Linked DNA regions of Homo sapiens: region 2 is linked to region 1. The links are contacts of gene promoters, found by promoter capture Hi-C in human tissues and cell types (Jung and others, 2019). All regions are on one chromosome and are shown on one strand. The core of a region is centred on a gene start or on the middle of the fragment in contact, and the rest is flanking DNA. Distances in the headings are between cores, read along the strand shown. Region 1 holds the start of WDR43 (WD repeat domain 43). Region 2 overlaps SPDYA (speedy/RINGO cell cycle regulator family member A).

Region 1 (3,372 bases), core at 641-3,140:
TGTAATCCCAGCTACTTGGGAGGCTGAGGCAGGAGAATCACTTGAACCGGAAGGTGGAGGTTGCAGTGAGCTGAGATTGTGCCACTGCACTCCAGTCTGGGCAGAGTGAGACTCTGTCTCAAAACACAAAAACAAACAAGAAAACAATAAAATGCAAATCTTACCATGCTGCTCCGTAGCTGTAAAAGCTTGAGCCTTCCCATGGCCATGAGAGTGGTTTTTATCTTTCCTGGCAGGCAATAGGCTCTGTGTGGGCTGAACAGTACCTAGCATTCCTTGAATTAGAATGCATTGATTTGGTGAATATTTAGGAGAAATATAAAAATCTACCCTTTATTTTTTGGATACAGGATCTCACTATGTCACCCAGGGTAGAGTGCAGTGGAGCAGTCATAGCTCACTGTAGCCTCGACCTCGTGGGCTCAAGCCATCCTCCTCCCTCAGCCTCCAGACTATGGGCGTGTGCCTAAAAATGTCTATTTGATGTAGCAACATGAGATAAATCTGGAGAAACAGGAGGGAATAGTTGTTCCGATCATTACTTTTACATTATTATAACTGAATACATTGTTATTTTGTAAATGATTACAGCCTGGAATTGAATAGGGGGAAACGGAAGCAGTTGTTACAATCATTATCAATTTGAAAGTGAAGACTTCTTTTCTCTCTCTTTTTTTTTGAGACAGTCTCGCTCTGTCACCTAGACTGGAGTGCAGTGGCGTGGCGATTTCGGCTCACTGCAACCTCCACCTCCCGGGTTCAAGGAGTCTCCTGCCTCAGTCTCCCGAGTAGCTGGGACTACAGGCACACACCACCACACCCGGCTAATTTTAGTATTTTTAGTAGAGACAAGGTTTCGCCATTTTGCCTAGCTTGGTCTCGAACTCTGACCTCGGGCGATCTGCCCGCCTCGGCCTCCCAAAGTGGGATTATAGGTGTAAGCCACCGCGCTCGGCTGAAGATTTCCTTCAAACCTTTCGTTCTACCTTATCATTTTCTTTAAAGTTTTAAAAAATTGTTATTTATTTATTATTTATTTTTTTAAGACGGAGTTTCACTCTTGTTGCCCGGAGTATAATGGCGCGATCTCGGCTCACAGCAACCTCCATCTCCCGAGTTCAAGCGATTCTCCTGCCTCAGCCTCTCGAGTAGCTGGGATTACAGGCGTGCGCCACACGCCTGGCTATTTTTTTTTTTTTTTTTTTTTTTTTTTTTTTTTTGAGACGAGTCTCGCTCTGTCGCCCAGGCTGGAGTGCAGGGGCGCGATCTCGGCTCACTGCAATCTCCGCCTCCCGGGTTCAACCAATTCTCTGCCTCAGCCTCCCGAGTGGCTGGGATTACATACAGGTGCCAACCACCAAGCCCGGCTAATTTTTTTGTATTTTTAGTAGAGACGAGGTTTCATCATCTTGGCCAGGCTGGTCTTGAACTCCTGACCTTATGATCCACCCGCCTCGGCCTCCCAAAGTGCTAGGATTACAGGCGTGAGCCACCGCGCCCAGCCCACGGCTAATTTTTTTATTTTTAGTAGAGACGGGGGTTTCTACATGTTGGTCAGGCTGGTCTCGAACTCCGACCTCAGGGGATCCGCCCACTTCGGCCTCCCAAAGTGCTGTGATTACAGGCGTGAGCCACCGCGCCCGGCCCCCCCCCTTTTTTTTTTTTTTTAAAGGAACAGGACTTGATCTTAATTCTACAATTACTTTCTCCCATACTCCCACTCCCGCCCAGAACAAGATAGCGACAGGCCCTAGCGGGCCACCGTCCACAGGGCGGATCCGCCAGAAGCTCTCCTGCGACGCGAAGATCCACTCCCTGAGCCCCCGGCGCTCCCTCCGCCTCACTTCCTCCTCCAGGCTCCGCCCCGCGCCGGTGCGCCTGCGCACGGACGAACACGTGGCTGCAGCGGGGCCAGAGCAGCAATGGCGGCGGGCGGCGGCGGTAGCTGCGACCCCCTGGCCCCTGCTGGGGTCCCTTGCGCCTTCTCCCCGCACAGCCAGGCCTACTTCGCTTTGGCCTCTACCGACGGTCACTTACGAGTATGGGAGACGGCCAACAACCGGCTGCACCAGGAGTACGTGCCTTCCGCGCACCTCAGTGGTACCTGCACCTGTCTGGCCTGGGCGCCAGCGCGGCTGCAGGCCAAGGTAAAGCGAGCGGGACTGCGCGGGGCGGGCGCCTTCCCGGGCTCGGCTTCGGGCCTCCGGGCCGGGTGGCGCGTGGTCCGGCATCGCGCGTGGCTCTCAGCGGCCCGGGCCAGAAGGCTTGGAGGCGGCGTCGGCGCGTTCAGGGCCCAAGCCGCCAGCCCCGCGTGCGGCCTGCCGCGAGGGCAGTGAGGGAGGGCGCAGCTCGACCCGGCCGGCCTCGTATCCGAGCCCTGCCGGCTGGCCCAATGAGGCCTGGGCCCCACTGTTGACGGGCAGCCATGTTCGCCAAGTCCCCTGGTCCCCCTGGGGCGGCTTCCTTCTGCCGGGCCTTGGCTCATCAGAGTTCTGGTTTTTGACAGAGCCCCATCTTGGGACTATCTAACTTTCCTCTGTCTGTGATCCGGCTCATCAGTTTTGCACTGGGCAGTTGGTATGGACTAGTCTGTACTTGCTTCCGGACCTTCCCCCTCCTGCCCCCCCTTTGGGTGCCGGCTCACCACGTGTTCTCGTCCCCGTCCAGGTTGTGGGACTCTCAACTCTTAACTTTTGCCTTTCCCAGGCACCTCTACATTCTCAGCTTTTTGAACTCACTGCTTTTTGATTTTAACATCTGCTCGCCCCTCCCGCCCCGCTTTCAAGCCGATCACACTGCTCCCCACCCACCCCAATCTGAAGTCTGTATTAGGATGTGGAGGTTAAGTGAAGTAGTAGCTTGATTTAGTGAATGTTTTATGAGTGCAGATGAAATTACCCTTAGATGGAAAACTGCCGAGTTAGGCAGAGCTTTTCATTGTTAGGGACCCGTGTCAGGTAAATGCCTTTCACTGTTGAGTCACTCAGCTACATCTCTCTAACTCAGCATGCACGTGGTTATTGCGTTTACAGAGTAGCCAAACCGAATCACTGCAAAGTGATTTGGAAACATCAGGTATCCTGAGGTGTGTGATGTGAGCTGTTTCAATGTGGAGAACTGTAAAAGCTATTTAGGATCTTACTCTCTCTGACGACCTGGGAAGCCTGCTAAATTTTTGGGTTGGGAAAAGGGATACATATAAGTTGCTATACTTTGGGCATGTTTAGATATTTTTCAAATTTTAAGCTACATTTTCATAGTTTATCCTGTTGATTCATAAAATAAACCTATCAGGGCTTATAAGTCAAACATAAAACTAAAAAAAAAATCAGTTTTTATTGTTAAAATTACAGCGCTCTGCTTATCTTTTAT
Region 2 (3,372 bases), core at 512-3,011, 50 kb before region 1:
GGCCGGGCACGGTGGCTTGTGCCTGTAATCCCAGCACTTTGGGAGGCCAAGAGGGGGCGGATCACCTGAGGTCAGGAGTTCCAGACCAGCCTGGCCAACATGGTAAAACCCTGTCTCTATTAAAAATACAAAAATTAGCTGGGTGTGGTGGTACATGCCTGTAATCCCAGCTACTCAGGAGGCTGAGGCAGGAGAATCGCTTGAACCTGGGAGGTGGAGGTTGCAGTGAGCTGAGATGGTGCCACTGCACTCCAGCCTGTGCAAAAAGAGCAAAACTTCGTCTCAAAAAAAAAAAAAAAAATTGACTTTTGGGAAAGATAGATGAAGCATTCTTTTTTTTTTAGATGAAGCATTCTTTACATATTTATATACATCACAATCACCAATCACACGCTAGATACTTAATCTCATTTAACATCCAACCCCCTAAGAAATCTTGAAGTGGCATTATTATATTCATTTTACTGATGAAAAAACAAACTCAGAAAAGTCACACCATTACCAGGTAAAACAATAACAGAAACAAGATGGGAACCCAGTTCTATCTGAATATATAACATATTTTTATAATAACTAAACTACTATTGTTTCTCCTTACTGTATGCTGTTGTAAGCTTTATGACGCCTGGGCTGGTCCATGTGAAACATAGATATATATTATGTATTATCTGAGGACCCATGAGATTTTAGAGTGAAGCCAAGGGAAAAAAAAATATGCCAAGCTTTAGCCCTGGATCATATAGGGAGGCATGTAACATTACAACTGTTAAATAATCTAAAACCAAGTAATTTTTCCTCAGAAATAAATCCTTCTTTGAATTTTCTTACTTATTTTTGTCATTACCACTGTTCTAGTCACCCAGGTTTAAAATTCTTACACTTAATGAAGGTATAATTAGGGCATATAAGTTAATAATGTGATAAGGGCTGTGCTAAGTATATGATCAACATTGAGGAGCACAAAAGATTTCAGAATTAATTCTGTGGGGTGAGAGGTTTGGTGAAGGTTTTTCAAAGTAAGATATTAGCTGGGCATTGACTGAGTCCTGTTTTGCCCAGAGAATTAAGGGAAGGGCCTTCTGAATAGCAGACAGAAGTTTGAAAATACAGCTGGTCCTTGACTTACCTATGGTTGCTATACACATTCAGTGGAAAGCTGTATCATGGTCTCTCTTGATGCTGGGCAGAGGCAGTGAGCTGCAGCTTCCAGGCAGCCATGAAATCATGAGAGTAAACAACTGATTTTCGACAGTGTACCGCATTGCCAGATGATGTTGCCCACCTGTAGCCTAATGTAAGCGTTCTGAGCACACTAAGGTAGGCTAGGCTAAGCTGTGATGTTCGGTGGTTAGCTGTATTAAACGCATCTTTTTAAAAATATTTTTTGCTGGGCGCGGTGGCTCACATCTGTAATCCCAACACTTTGGGAGGCCGAGGCGGGTGGATCACCTGAGGTCAGGAGTTCGAGATCAGCCTGACCAATATGGTGAAACCCCATCTCTACTGAAAATACAAAATTTAGCTGGGCATGGTGCGGGTGCCTGTAGTCCCAGCTACTCGGGAGGCTGAGACAGGAGAATTGCTTGAACCCGGGAGGCGGAGGTTGCAGTGAGCCAAAATCATGCCCCTGTACTCCAGCCTGGGCAACAGAGTGAGACTCCATCTCAAAAAAGAAAAAAATAAAATAAAAACATTTTTTAAAAATAGAGATGGGGTCTCACATTGCCCAGGCTGGTCATGAACTCCTGGCCTTAAGCAATCCTCCACCTCTGTCTGCCAAAGTGCTGGGATTACAAGAGTGAGCTACTGTGCCCAGCCAAATGCTTTTTTCCCCCACCAGCCAGGATCTTGCTCTGTCACCTGGGCTGGAGTGTAGTGATGTGATCACAGCTCACTGTAGCCTCAACCTCCTCTGTTCAAGTGATCCTCCCACCTCAGCCTCCTGAGTAGCTGGCACTACAGGCACGTGCCACCATGCCCAGCTTTTTTTTTTTTTTTCTTTTTTTTTTTGTAGAGACTTCCTATGTTGCCCAGACTGGTGCTGGTCTCGGACTCCTGACCTCAAGCAATCCTCCCACCTTGGCCTCCCAAAGTGGTGGGGTTACAGATGTAAATCACTGCACCTGGCCCAAATGCATTTTGACTTAATGATATCTTCAAGTTACAAGAGTTTATTGGGACATAACTCCATTGTAAGTCAAAAAGTCTCGATATATAAATTTTCTCTCTGCATCCAATGAATTACCAGCTTATCTGGTTGTTCTTTCATAATATTTTGTTTCTTTCTTTGTTTGTTTGAGATGGAGTTTTGCTTGTTGCCCAGGCTGGAGTGCAATGGTGCGATCTCAGCTCACTGCAACCTCCATCTCCTGGGTTCAGGCAATTCTTGTGCCTCAGCCTTCCCAGTAGCTGGGATTACAGGCATGCTCCACCATGCCCAGCTAGTTTTTGTATTTTTAGTAGAGACAGGGTTTCACCATGTTGGTCAGGCTGGTCTCGAACTCCTGACCTCAGGTGATCCACCTGTCTCAGCCTCCCAAAGTGCTGGGATTACAGGCGTGAGCCACCGCGCCCGACCTGTCTGCTCATTTTCTACGATTAATCACCTTATATATGTATTACTATGAAAGCTCTGATTTAACAGTTTTTTCCTCCAGTTAAATTCTCATAGACACCACTAACAGATTAACTTAAAATACCTTTTACATGACCATAGAAACTTCAGAAGTTCCCACTGCCTCTGAAAATATGAAGTTCAAAATGAAAGCCTCCCACAATCGCAGAACTATATACTATGTATACCTAAATTTCCCTCTAGAACAACCAAGTCAACAGATAAAACAATACATGACCCTTGGCTGGGCATGGTGGCTCACGCCTGTAATCCCAGCACTTTGGGAGGCTGAAGCGGGCAGATCACTTGAGGTCAGGAGCTCGAGACCAGCCTGGCCAACATGGTGAAACCCCATCTCTACTAAAAATAGAAAAATTAGCCAGGCGTGGTGGTGGTGCATGCCTGTAATTCCAGCTACTCCAGAGACTGAGGCAGGAGAATTGCTTGAACCTGGGAGGTGGAGGTTGCAGTGAGCTGAGACTGCACCACTGCACTCCAGCCTGGGTGACAGAGCTAGATGCCATCTCAAAAAACAAAAACAAAAACATGATCCAGTGTAGGTTTAAAGACATCAGGAAAGTTTTAGTGACTATTTACTGGGTATAAAAGGTAGGGCCTCTGGAAGGCATTGGGATGACAGTTTTCGGTCAGTCTCAAATCTTTAGTTTACAGGACAGCCAGACATAGACATAGAAGGCTAACATTAGAAGGTATCTGTCCCATAAACCAGACTGTAAACATACTTATTGTTTGGAGGA

What was found. The method cuts DNA at HindIII sites, captures the fragments that hold promoters and counts their contacts. A contact is called where the count stands out against the background at its distance.
Region 2: a contact is called between a fragment that was not itself captured here and the fragment with the promoter of WDR43 in region 1, in 1 of the 25 tissues and cell types used here (adrenal gland).

The regions. Positions count from the first base shown.
Region 1 is chr2:28,892,777-28,896,148 of GRCh38, forward strand. WDR43 (WD repeat domain 43) reads left to right here and starts at 1,891. Exons shown (of 18, transcript NM_015131.3): 1 at 1,891-2,147. The coding sequence starts at 1,923. RefSeq lists silencers at 1,875-1,954, 2,095-2,154, 2,195-2,244, 2,265-2,384 and enhancers at 2,035-2,658, 2,485-2,584, 2,659-3,280. The HindIII fragment of the contact is 10,077 bases long and covers 1-3,372 here.
Region 2 is chr2:28,843,267-28,846,638 of GRCh38, forward strand. All of the region lies in intron 7 of SPDYA (speedy/RINGO cell cycle regulator family member A), which reads left to right. Among named protein-coding and RNA genes, the nearest start is that of TRMT61B, 25 kb to the right of the region's middle. The HindIII fragment of the contact is 7,965 bases long and covers 1-3,372 here.